Linked DNA regions of Homo sapiens: regions 1 and 3 are each linked to region 2. The links are contacts of gene promoters, found by promoter capture Hi-C in human tissues and cell types (Jung and others, 2019). All regions are on one chromosome and are shown on one strand. Each heading gives the region's core, a stretch centred on a gene start or on the middle of the fragment in contact. The rest is flanking DNA. Distances are from core to core; before and after follow the strand shown.

Region 1 (3,992 bases), core at 186-2,685, 160 kb before region 2:
CCCACCAAACCTTGAGGTAAAGGGCCAGTGGCCCCCGTGGGGACAATTAAAGGCAAAGAATTCGGTAGTAAATTTAGAGGAGTGGTACTACAGAGATTGACCGCCCTGCCCCCTACTGTGGAGGTAGACAAGCATTGTACTGAGACAGAAGAAGCGACTGGGACCCATCTGGGTTGGCTGTAGGTAAATTTGCTTGTGCTGGGGGCTGTATTGGGACCGCTTGAAGCAGAAACACAATATTGGTCTGAGTCTGAGGTGTCCCATTTGATACTGGGGCCTGGGACTGGCCCTGCTTCCCATTTCCCTGGTTCTGTGGCAAGGGATTGCCATCTATATCAGACTTAGAGTGGCAAGTACTTGCCCAGTGTTTACCTTTACGACAATGAGGGCAAACAGTAGCAGGAGCATTTGGCCATGTTTGTTGAGCTGGCTTGGCCGCTTTTAACAGTGCAATTTTTTTGGGTATGATGAAGTTGACCACAATTATAGCAGGCTCCAAGAAAAGAATTCAGTCAAGCCAGTTTGATTGCCATCCTTCATGGCCCGTGCCCACAGAATAGCTTTGTGGGTCTCTGATCCAATGCTTTCACAAGCTTTAATATATGCAGGCACACCTCGTGATCAGGTAAATTTTGTCATTAGACAGAACGCATGACCACTTTACACTCATGGTTCGCATTCTCAAAAGCTAACATATGAAGGAGAATACCTTGAGCGTAATCATCAGAGACAGATTTTGAACAGCATCTTGTAATTTAGCCAAAAAATCAGGATGTAATTCACTGCGACCCTGTTTAACAGTAGTAAAAGAAACAGGAGCTTGGCCTGGGGCACCTAGTTTATCCCAAACTCTCATACACAACTTTGTTACTTGTTCCGTGGTGAGAGCGTCAAAGTCTAATTGGGCGGTAGTGTCAGAGTGATTATCAGAGCCTGTGAGCTGAGCCTGAGTAATTAGAATGCCATCAACCCAATTTAGCTGAGCCTGCAGACGGGCCTCCTCTGACCACCAGGTACAGAATTGTAAATGCTGAGATGGAGTTAGAACAGCTTTCGCCAAAAGGTCCCATTCTGAAGGAAGCAAAATGACCTCAGTACAAAGAGTCTGTAATGCCATTTTAACATATGGAGAAGCAGGACCATACTGAGCACAAGCATCCTTGAATTCTTTTGAAAAGGTAAGATTGAGCAGTGCATATCAACGCATTTGTACCCCTTGAGCATTGGGAGGTTCCAGCGTGACCGGATAAGCCCACACCTCTAATCCACTTGTTTCTTTGTTCTGGCGTAATAAGCATTGCATGGAAGTTTCAAGAGCAGGCACATGAGATGGAGTTGGCATAGAAGTGACAGTAAAAGTATGTGTAGATAAGGGAAACTGAGGTTCAGGAGGTCAGACCAGTATGAGAGTGTGAGAAAGGGGCATTGGGGGAGCAGAAGAGACAGAAGCATACTGGTGATTATTGGGAAATCCTGTGCAACCAGAGTGGCAGGGGCGTCCATGTGTGAAGAAGGGTACAGAGAAGCAGGTTGAGTGAATGGCAAAGTGACTGGTTGAGGGACCGAAATGACAGGAGGGTGAGGGGCTGCGGTGGGGGAGGGCCTGCAGAATTACAGGTAAATTGTAGTTTGGTCTGGAGCCATTAGATGGCTCTGGAGGCAAAGCCTGCAAAGATTTGAAAAGGGAAGAGTTAGCATAGATATGGTGCAGAGCTGTCCGAGTCAGGGCCATGGGAGCTACAAGTATCAGGTCTTCATGAAAAGAAATAAGACCATCGGGGGTGACATTAAGCCAAAGTCACCGGAGTTAGATATTGAATCCTCAATATCGTTAGGTGGGGGAGGAGTAGGCGAAGGGAGAGGCTGAGCAGATAATGAAGCCCGAGTGGGAGAGGAAAGCTGTGGAAGAGGTAGAAGGTCGCCAGATTCAGAAAACTGTGGTAACTGCAGGGGGTCACGGGATTGGTATGTCGTTAGGATGGCACATACCAAGGCCCAATCACCCCAAACAGTGAAGGGAACATAATTTCCTGATGGGATCAGTTCCTGGAATTTTGCACCAACGCGATCCCATAGTTCCACATCTAATTTTCCCTTTTCAGGAAACCAAGGACAGTGTTCTTCCAACACCCTGAATAGGGTGACCATATTTTCCATGGGCACCCAAACTCCACCCTGTTTTAACAGGAGTTTAATATAGCAGAGATAAGCATAATATTTAGACTCCATGTGACCCATAGTTACCCGAGACAATACATAGAAAATTCACCAATCATCAGGGAGCCGAACAAGCGTTTCTGAGGACTGGACTGATGATCGTTTCTCCACACCTACCAAAGGGAATCAGGTTCCCACATGCACTTAGGAAAAAGAAAACCATGTTGGTGCACCAGATATTGGGGGAACCTGCCCCCAGTATTTCAATGTAGGTTCTTTCTACTTTCCATAAGTGTCGGCTGGCTGAGAAATAAAGAGAAAGAGTACAAAGAGAGGAATTTTACAGCTGGGCTGCTGGAGGTGACATCACATATCAGTGGGACCGTAATGCCCGCCCGAGCCTCAAAACCAGCAAGTTTTTATTAAGGATTGCAAAAGGGGAGGGGGTGTACGAACAGGGGGTAGGTACGAAGATCACATGCTTTAAAGGGCAAAAAGCAGAACAAAGATCACATGCTTCTGAGGAAACAGGACAAGGGCAAAATAGAACTCCTGATAAGGGTCTATGTTCAGCGGTGCATGTATTGTCTTGATAAACATCTTAAACAACAGAACACAGGGTTCAAGAGCAGAGAACCAGTCTGACCACAAATTTGCCAGGGCCAGGTTTTTCCCCACCCTAGTAAGCCTGAGGGTACTGCAGGAGACCAGGGTGTATTTCAGTCCTTATCTCAACTGCATAGGACAGACATTCATTCCCAAAGCGACCATTTATAGACCTCCCCCCAGGAATGCTTTCCTTTCCCAGAGTATTAATATTAATATTCCTTGCTAGGAAAAGAATTTAGCAATATCTTCCCTACTTGCATGTCCATTTATAGGCTCTCTGCAAGAAGAAAAATATGGCTCTATTTTGCCTGACCCTGCGGACAGTCAGACCTTATGGTTGTCTTCTCTTGTTCCCTAAATATCGCTGTTATTCTGTTCTTTTTCAAGGTGCACTGATTTCATATTGTTCAAACACACATGTTTTACAATCAATTTGTACAGTTAACACAATTATCACAGTGGTCCTGAGGTGACCTATATCCTCAGCTTAAGAAGATAACAGGATTAAGAGATTAAAGTAAGGCAGGCATAAGAAATTATAAAAGTATTAATTTGGGAACCGATAAATGTCCATATTAAAATGAAATATTTGCAATTTATGTTCCTCTGCTGCAGCTCCAGCCGGTCCCTCCATTCGGGGTCCCTGACTTCCTGCAACAAAGGCCATTTTTACTTTCTGCAGAAAGGGTACACTCGCCAGCAGTTTTACCACGAGAGTACACTGAACAAAGGAGAAAGGGTCATTTATAACTTGATGTGTCCACCCTACTGCTGTGTCCAGTTTCCACTGGCTGGAACGGGACCTCACATTCTGTATTTGTCCTGATTGGCTAGCAACTTAGAACTTTTTAAAAGAGGCAGAGGCAGAGGAGAACAAAGGAAGGGGGAACTCACTTGTGGAACGCTGAGAAAGGTAAAAACACCTTCAAATAAGGAAGAGGAACAGGCTATGACCTCATGCTTGTTTGGATCAGTATAAGCATGCCAGGGCAAGTATTTAGGCTAAATTGTGGGAGTTAAGAACATAAAGTACATTAATTTCTTTATTACAGCTAGCAGATATTTCAGAATATCAGCACCGGTCTTTGAATAAATTTTGCTTCTAAGAGAAGTTACGACTTATTCTTAATTAGATGGGGAGAAAAGTCTCTTTGAAGAGGAACCTCTACTTTACTTTTTACAGTATTAATATATTTGGTCATTCCTTTATTGAAACAACAATTGTC
Region 2 (3,841 bases), core at 187-2,686:
GAAAGGGTAGCCGGGGTTCCTGGACTTGAGGAAGCCCTAACTTTGGGCAACTGCCTAGAGACGTGCCTCTCTCTAGGGACACAGAAAGCTCATTTCACAGTTAAGATGCCCACAGAGACTTAGAGTCTGCAGAGAAGTTGAAGAGCGGGCACAAAAGTGAGACATCAGCTTCTCATTAGAGTCTACCAGGAAAAATGCCTGAAAGAAATGCTAGGAGAAGCATCCTTCCTTCTTACTCTCCATGCTCTGATTTACCTATCCCTTCTGTCTGTGAGTGAGGCCCAGAGGATGTGGTTCAGAGTCCCTCCCTGGTGGCTGAAGGAGGAGAGGCCCACCATGTCTGGATGGACATCAAGAGTCCCAGACGGAGGGAAGCAGACCTGGTTTCCACGTGGAGCTGGAGGGATGCCACGAAGCCATGATGGAGCCCTGAGCAAGAAGGCATTGGACATTGCTCTTTTTCATAGCTCCCTCAAGCTTGCCAGTGTCTCCACAGTGACTCCTAAATGCCAGGATTCCAATTTACCTCTTAACAGACAGATCAGTGTATCTGGCTAATGGGCACTCCCTCACTAATGGACTGGGGTTATGGAGGGGAGGGCTGTGGTGTAACAGTTTCATAGGTGAAACCCAGGGAGCCTCACTCCTCTCCCAGGTCATATCATTATGCCTACTCCCCCAACAGATGCTTTCCTTCCCCCACTACTTACTTCCAACAGCACCCCTCTTACCTCCAGGACCTTCAGTACCTAGAAGGCTTTGCCACTAGGGCCTGAGGTCTGGGCCTCTAGCAGGGGCATGGTCAAGTTACAGGATGCAAGATGTGCATAAGTGCCCAGCCCAAGGCCACAGAGGTATTGGGATTCACATGCACCTGTTTTCCAGATCCAGAGCTTCCATCCCAAAGACCTGAGCCTGGCCTTCCTTCAGACAAGAGCGTGCCCCTCCTAAGCTAGGGAAGATTTCCAGGGAGCTACAACACCTCTCCTCAGCAGAGTTGCCCACGCCCAGGACACAGTTGCCCATCAGCCTGTATGCTGAAGGGCCCATTCCTAGAATGTGGGAGACCCATGTCCATGACATGGAGCAAGACAGATGGAGAATGCTGTTTGTCTGCAGGATGTGGGTACTCCTGCCGGCAGGAGATGATCAACCCCCCAGCTCTGGGCTTCAGAGATGCCCACACCCCAATACCGCCTTTGGGATACCTGAGAGCCCATCTCCTGATCAAACTGCTCACCGGAATGTAGGCAGGGCTGGTCCTTGGAAAGCCACCCTTCTGTGGGGATACCTTGGCACTCACCACCAGGCTCTGGGTCTGGCCCCCATTCCTGGCCTAGTCGGCAACTCCTACCTTTGCTGAGCAGTCCCGGCTCCCATGTGATAGCTCCTCTCAGCTGATGCTTCTCCAAGGCTGCTGAAGCCTGAAGCACTGCAGTGAGCGGTGAGAGGCAGCCGGCAAAGCAGAGTGCTCCGAGAGCCTCTGGGTCCTAATGGCCTCCTGCTTCCCACCCAGCCCCTCAGAGTCACTTCTGGAGCAAAAAGGTGGGCACCAATGCCCCAGGCAAGGTGCCTGGCAGTGAGCTCAACTCCTCTCACTTCTCTCAGGCTGCTGGATTGCGTCTCAAAAATTTCGTGGGGCCAGGAAATGATAGGTAGGGGAGACCCTCTTGACCAGCCTGATGAAGTAAAAAAAAAAGTACATGGAGTCAGAAAATCCAGGTTTAAGGCCTGGCTATGGCACTTACTAGCCGTGTGACCTTGGGCAAGTTGCATTTTGGCCTTGATTTCTTAGCAGTTCAAAGAGAAGATAGGAGAGATGCATGGTTCTGTGTGACATCAGAACCAAGGTGCTGATGCAGGCAGGTCAGCGCAGACCCAGGGCCCCAAGGCTTAGGCCAGGGAGGCGGCTGAGGCTCCAGGGGATGGTCCAAGGTTTGGCCCCTTTGGAAGCTGCCTAATGCGTATGGGGGACAGGTTTAGGAGCAGCACTCAGGTTTGAAGGGCAGCTGAAGGCTTTGTCTTAACCCTGCCCTTGCCTCCCAAAAGCACATTATTATTATTTGCTTAGATTGTATGTTTATTGGAACTGGGGCTGTGAGGGCTGATGGAGATTGGCAGGGAGGGGGCGGGAGGATCTAACATCCCCCCGAGCCACCATGGGAACCACCACAACACTGCTTCCTGAAGGAGACAGAGTGGGGGCCAGGGACTCAGGAATGCTCACACTGATCTGGATTTGTGGGACTGGACAGAGCTAGGTAGCATCAGCCACTGAGCATCGCCCATCTGTGGCATGATGGGCCTTCAGAGACGCAATGAAGGGGCATGGCCTCCCTCTAGCTATGAAGAAAATGATCATTTACCCGGGTACATGACTGATACCCAAGGATAGAATCCTAACATTGCAAAGCTGTAGGACATCCTACAGGCCAAGGTATCCATGTTTCTGAGACCCAGAGAGATAAAGAGATTGCTCAAAGCCACATAGCTCCACATGGCAGAGCCATGAGTCTAAACAGGGAATTCAGGCATGATCCCCTACTCCAGAGCCTGCTTCCCTGAGACTTGCCTATCTAGGGACTCCTTCTGCCTCTAAGAAGGAAAAAGGGAATTCTGGAATTGTTTACCAGACCCAACCCAAAGAGCCATAAGAACAATGAGTTACCCAAGGACCTCACTGGGACAAGTTGGCTGCCCCAAGCCCCAGGTCAAAAACAAAGAGGCCACTGACAAACCAAGAGCCGATGCAGCAAGTGCCGCTGTCACCAGCCACCACTTTTTGAGCTGTTATGAGTGCCAGGCCCTTTACATACAGTTTCTTTGATCCCCACACCAATCTATGAGGCAGCCATGACTTGCCCTATTTTATAAGTGAGGAACCGGGTGCTGGAGGAGAAGTGACTTTCCCCAAATCACACAGCTAATAAGTGCAAGAGCTGATATTTGAACCCAGATCTGTTTGAAGTCCAAGTATTTCCTCCTCCTTCTCCCTTCGTTCCGTGGCCTCTCCAGTGGCCTGACACAAGACTGTGGACTACAGCCCTAAAAGCTATCTTCATAGAAGTAGTCACTGCCTTCCAGAAAGCCTAAAACAGACCTCAAAATTAGGCATACCTGCGTACAAGAAATTCAAATGGAAATACCAAATTGAAAACCTGTAGACAGCAAAGTGATTTTTAGGAAGCCCTGTGCTGTTGTGTTGGCAAGATTAATTTGGCATCAAGCAGATTGTCTGGGATTAGGTAAAGCCTGTCCCTGCTCAGCACCCACATTCTTCCTGCAGGGCCCCAGCCCAGACTGGCATGGCCCCTTCCGAGGGATTCAATAAGAACTGGAGCAGACCTGGGCCCACTGGAACAGGATTTTAGAAAGAGCGCTAGACTGGAGTCAGAAAACCTTGGTTCCAGTTTGGCGCCATTCTATTGGTTGGTGGTAAGACCTTGGCCTGTGAGTTGGCTGTCTGTGAAAATGGGCAAAATTCTTCACTTCCAAGCTTATCTAATAGTGGTAGGGAGCCTGCAAAACAAACATAGCCTGCCTCTCCAGCTTCAGGGAGCTAGCACAGGTAATCACAGCTCATGTGGTGGCCAGCAGGCAAGGCGTCCGTGTCCTGAAGCCCCTCCCAGAGAGCTATTGGGAAAGGCAGTACCAAAGAGGCAGCATGTTCCAGCTGTTGGAACCATCTTGGCTCAGGAGGTCGGCGGGGGAACTGCTTATTCTAGCCTGTGGGCAAATAATAAATAATAATAATAATCATGCTGGCTGGGCACAGTGGCTCACGCCTGTAATTCCAGCACTTTGGGAGGCTGAGGCGGGCAGATGATTTGAGATCAGGAGT
Region 3 (3,534 bases), core at 491-2,990, 150 kb before region 2:
ACAGGAACTGAATTTCTACCCTGGGATGCCTGGATCGTGTCCTAAGGTTGGTGGGAATTGCCTCTGCTTTTGTTGACATGACATTGGAGTCGTGAGAATAACTGCTGATAGTATGGGAAAGCACTTGGAGGATGAATGGTACCAGGGACTTAAGACCAGTGTGTGCAGGAATGCAAGAGTCCTGGCCCCAAATCCAAACTCTGTCAGATGCAGCTCACTGGGGACACTCACAAATTCTGGATTGTAGCAGATCATGCCCAGCTGCATATGGTTGTCCATGGTCTGGTTCTCCAAAATGTCCACACGAATCTTCTCCTCTTCTGTCTCCCCACCTGCCACCCACAAAACACAGACTCAATCTCAGCATCACAGCCCAGCCAAGGAGGAGGCCACCTTCCCCCCACACATTGCAGCCACCCACACTCACACAGGTTGTGCTTGCGGGCAATGTAGCACAAGATGGCGTTGCTCTGGGTGATCTTGTGAGCCCCATCAATCAAGTAGGGCAGCTGGATGGATGGGAAACCGGCGAAGCTCAGTTGGGCCACCAGGCTCCCCAGCATCCCCTTCCCATAAGCAAGAGCAGAGAGGAGACCGGGCACTCACTGTGCCTGCTCATGGCAGGACTGAAATAAGAATACTGTCACATGAACGAATGCAGGTGGACACAGAACATCATGGAAGGACTGTTTAGACAGCCAGGAGTGAGAGGAATTGGGCAGAAGACTCCTGATCTTAACACCTCTAAGCTGGGGAGAGGAGATGCAGTCAGAGACACGTTGCACTTTCCCCCAAAACCGCCCCTTCCCCTGCACCTACATTGGGAAAGTCCAGGCCCAGCTTGAATTTTTCATTCAGCCACTGGCTTCTGTCATAATCAGGAGCTGTGGTGGGGAAGAAGAAGTGAAAACAAACCTCCCCAGAGCCCAGCCCTCCTTCCCGGGGACCCTCCCACGGAGCCAGTGGCAAGATCCCTGAGACAGGTGGATCTAGAATCTGACCACTCAGTCCCACATCCCAGGGTTCAGGGACAAAGAATCCCGCTGAGGGCTCTGGACCCCACACAGCTAAGGCTTCCAGGGTTTAGGCAAGCCCTGAGGGACACCCGTCCCAATTAGACAGGGGGCCCAGCATCCCACCCCAGCATTCTGCCTTGCAAGGCCAGAGGGCTCCCTCACCGGGGCTCAGGGAAGAGACAGCCTGCAGCTCCAGCAGGGGAGGCCTGCAGAGGCAGCCACAGGTGGCCACCATGGGTTGCTTGGTGCCAACTTAGCGTGAGTGGGCAGAGCCCGAACACGAGGGTGCCATTACCGTCCCCCATCGTGTACTTCTTTTCCTCATAGCTTGAGTCTGTGTATTCCAGGAGCAGGCGGATGGCGTGGGCCAGCTGGGAGAGATGGCCCGCAGGTCGCGTCAGAGATGGAGGGTCCCTGACTTTGTCTGCACCAGGGAAGCCCCCAGTTTACACTGCACGTACCCGTTGCCTCCTCTACCCGCCCACACCCCCAACACACACACAGCGGCATGCACAGGCCCTTCTGAGGCGGGCAGCCCTGAAGAGGAACGGTCCCTAGAGTCCGTCCCGCAGCTGCTTCGCACTTCCCTCCCCTGCGCCCTCGTCCCACCGTCCAGCGGACCCTCGCTCACCCCGCGGATGTCCCAGTACCCCAGTATCATGGGCATGGTGCTGGTTGGTGCGGATTCCGCAGACAGGCCTAAACCGAGCAGGGCTCAGAGTATAAGAGCTCCGGAGAGGGGACAGGCGGGGCCTTGCTGCGACCCCGCCCCTCGGCCCGCCACAACCCGAAAGGCGCCATTCTGGAGGCCCGGGAGAGGGCGCCTGGGGCTGCACTCAGTAAGACTTCCTCCCGCCTCCCAGGCCCGAGGGTTCCGGGAGCGAAGTCAGGGCGCCCAGAAGCCCAAGGCGGGGCTCGGCCTCGCCAGCTTCCCTACCCAGCCCTGAGGCTCCACGAGTCCATCCAGCCCTTGCTAGGTCCACAGCGACTTGGCTGTGCGCTTGAGACACCAGCCAGATCCTAACGGAGCAAAGCTCTTCTCCCTTCTCCTCCCTGCCCGCGGTGTCCCTCAGCCTTCTCTCCGCTGCCGAGTTCCCAAGGGCTCTGGGAGACTCCGGCTGCAGGGGTCAGACTAAAAAGTGGTGGCCCCAACCTGGGAATTTAATTCAGCCCCTGTCACTGTAAGAGCAGGACTTCCTCTGATCCGAAAGCTACTCCCAGGGCTTAGTCTCCCCTCTAGCCCCGCCTACACAGGAACAGTGTCAGTGGTATAGGAAGGACCCCCAGGAAAAGGGCCAGAGTAAAGGAAATGTGGTCTGTGTTTTCTGTTAGGGGCCCTCGGGTACTGAGTCCTTCGGTCATCTGGCTAAGTACTGTGTAAATTAGCCACTTCGTATTTTGGCACAATTTATGAATCGAAATCCAAGGATCAGATCCAGCAAGTTGGTGAGGTATCTGAGGTGCCCCCTAGAAATGTCCAGCCAGTCCACTAGGTGAACCTCACAGAGACCGGAACAGCAACAGCAACAGTGAGTGCAGTGGCCACAGAGAGCAGGCGAGGGAGGATGGAAGAACTTCCCGGACCAAACTGAGGGTCCGGCTGCTATTTCTCTAGGCCCAATAACGAGATGCAGATCAAATGGGGAGGAAGAGAGGTTTTATTTCTGCAACCGGTAACAGGGAGAAGGCCTAGAAATTACCACCAGACCAACTCAATATTACAAAGTTTTCCAGAGCATATATACCTTCTAAGGTATATGTCTACAAGTAAGTGTGCATTCATCTAAAGACATAAGTGATTAACTTCTTTAATCTGTAACTGAGGTCTGGGTCCTGAGGACCTTATTCTGGAGCCTCAGTCTATTTATTTAATCTAAATGGGTCCAGGTGCGGGGGATGATTACCCTTATCTTGTCTCCTGCTAAATCACGGAGGTTTGGGGAGTTCCTTCAGACGCCCAATAAACTTGTTTGTGGAGGCCTGGGGAGTTTCTTCAGACTCACAATAAAACTTGTTTAATTCTAAATAGGTCCTGTTAAGAATTCCTTCATTGTTTTGTCATGCTTTAAGGCCCAGGAAAGGCCTAAGCAAAACTCTTGGTGGGCTTTTGTTACATCCAGCCTCTGTATAAAGGTACTGGCTTTTTTCAGCTTTTAATATTTAACTTCACCACTCAGTCAGTACTGAAACAGTTGTTATGGAGGCCTGTGTTAGTGACGCCTGGCCTGCCACAGAACCTGTCCCTCAGAGAAGCCAGAACCCTGTCCTGCTGAGGAGGGAGGTCAGAGGATGGTGGCCAGAGAGGAGCCTGAGGGCTCCCCACAGGACCACAGGCAGGGACCCTCCCCTCTCCAGATCCACCATTCCGGACCTGGACCTGGCTCCTGACCCATGTGTGTTCTTCAGTATGAGACGGTGGCTCCAGTGGCCTTTGAAGTCACACCGTGATATGTGACCCATGGTACAACCTCCACGAGAACAATGTCCAACCTGCCAACTTTCTTCTTTCAAGGTAGAA

Evidence for each region. Contacts are between HindIII fragments. The study calls those that stand out against the background at their distance.
Region 1: a contact is called between a fragment that was not itself captured here and the fragment with the promoter of GPR61 in region 2, in 1 of the 25 tissues and cell types used here (spleen).
Region 3: a contact is called between the fragment with the promoter of GSTM1 here and the fragment with the promoter of GPR61 in region 2, in 1 of the 25 tissues and cell types used here (mesenchymal stem cells).

The regions. Positions count from the first base shown.
Region 1 is chr1:109,702,048-109,706,039 of GRCh38, reverse strand. No RefSeq gene overlaps it. Among named protein-coding and RNA genes, the nearest start is that of GSTM5, 8.2 kb to the left of the region's middle. The HindIII fragment of the contact is 8,634 bases long and covers 1-3,992 here.
Region 2 is chr1:109,537,467-109,541,307 of GRCh38, reverse strand. GPR61 (G protein-coupled receptor 61) reads right to left here and starts at 1,436. Exons shown (of 2, transcript NM_001393907.1): 1 at 1,355-1,436. RefSeq lists enhancers at 922-1,421, 1,422-1,923. The HindIII fragment of the contact is 6,013 bases long and covers 1-3,841 here.
Region 3 is chr1:109,686,023-109,689,556 of GRCh38, reverse strand. GSTM1 (glutathione S-transferase mu 1) reads right to left here and starts at 1,740. Exons shown (of 8, transcript NM_000561.4): 1 at 1,648-1,740; 2 at 1,312-1,387; 3 at 820-884; 4 at 428-509; 5 at 232-332. The coding sequence starts at 1,683. RefSeq lists an enhancer at 1,641-1,690. The HindIII fragment of the contact is 14,943 bases long and covers 1-3,534 here.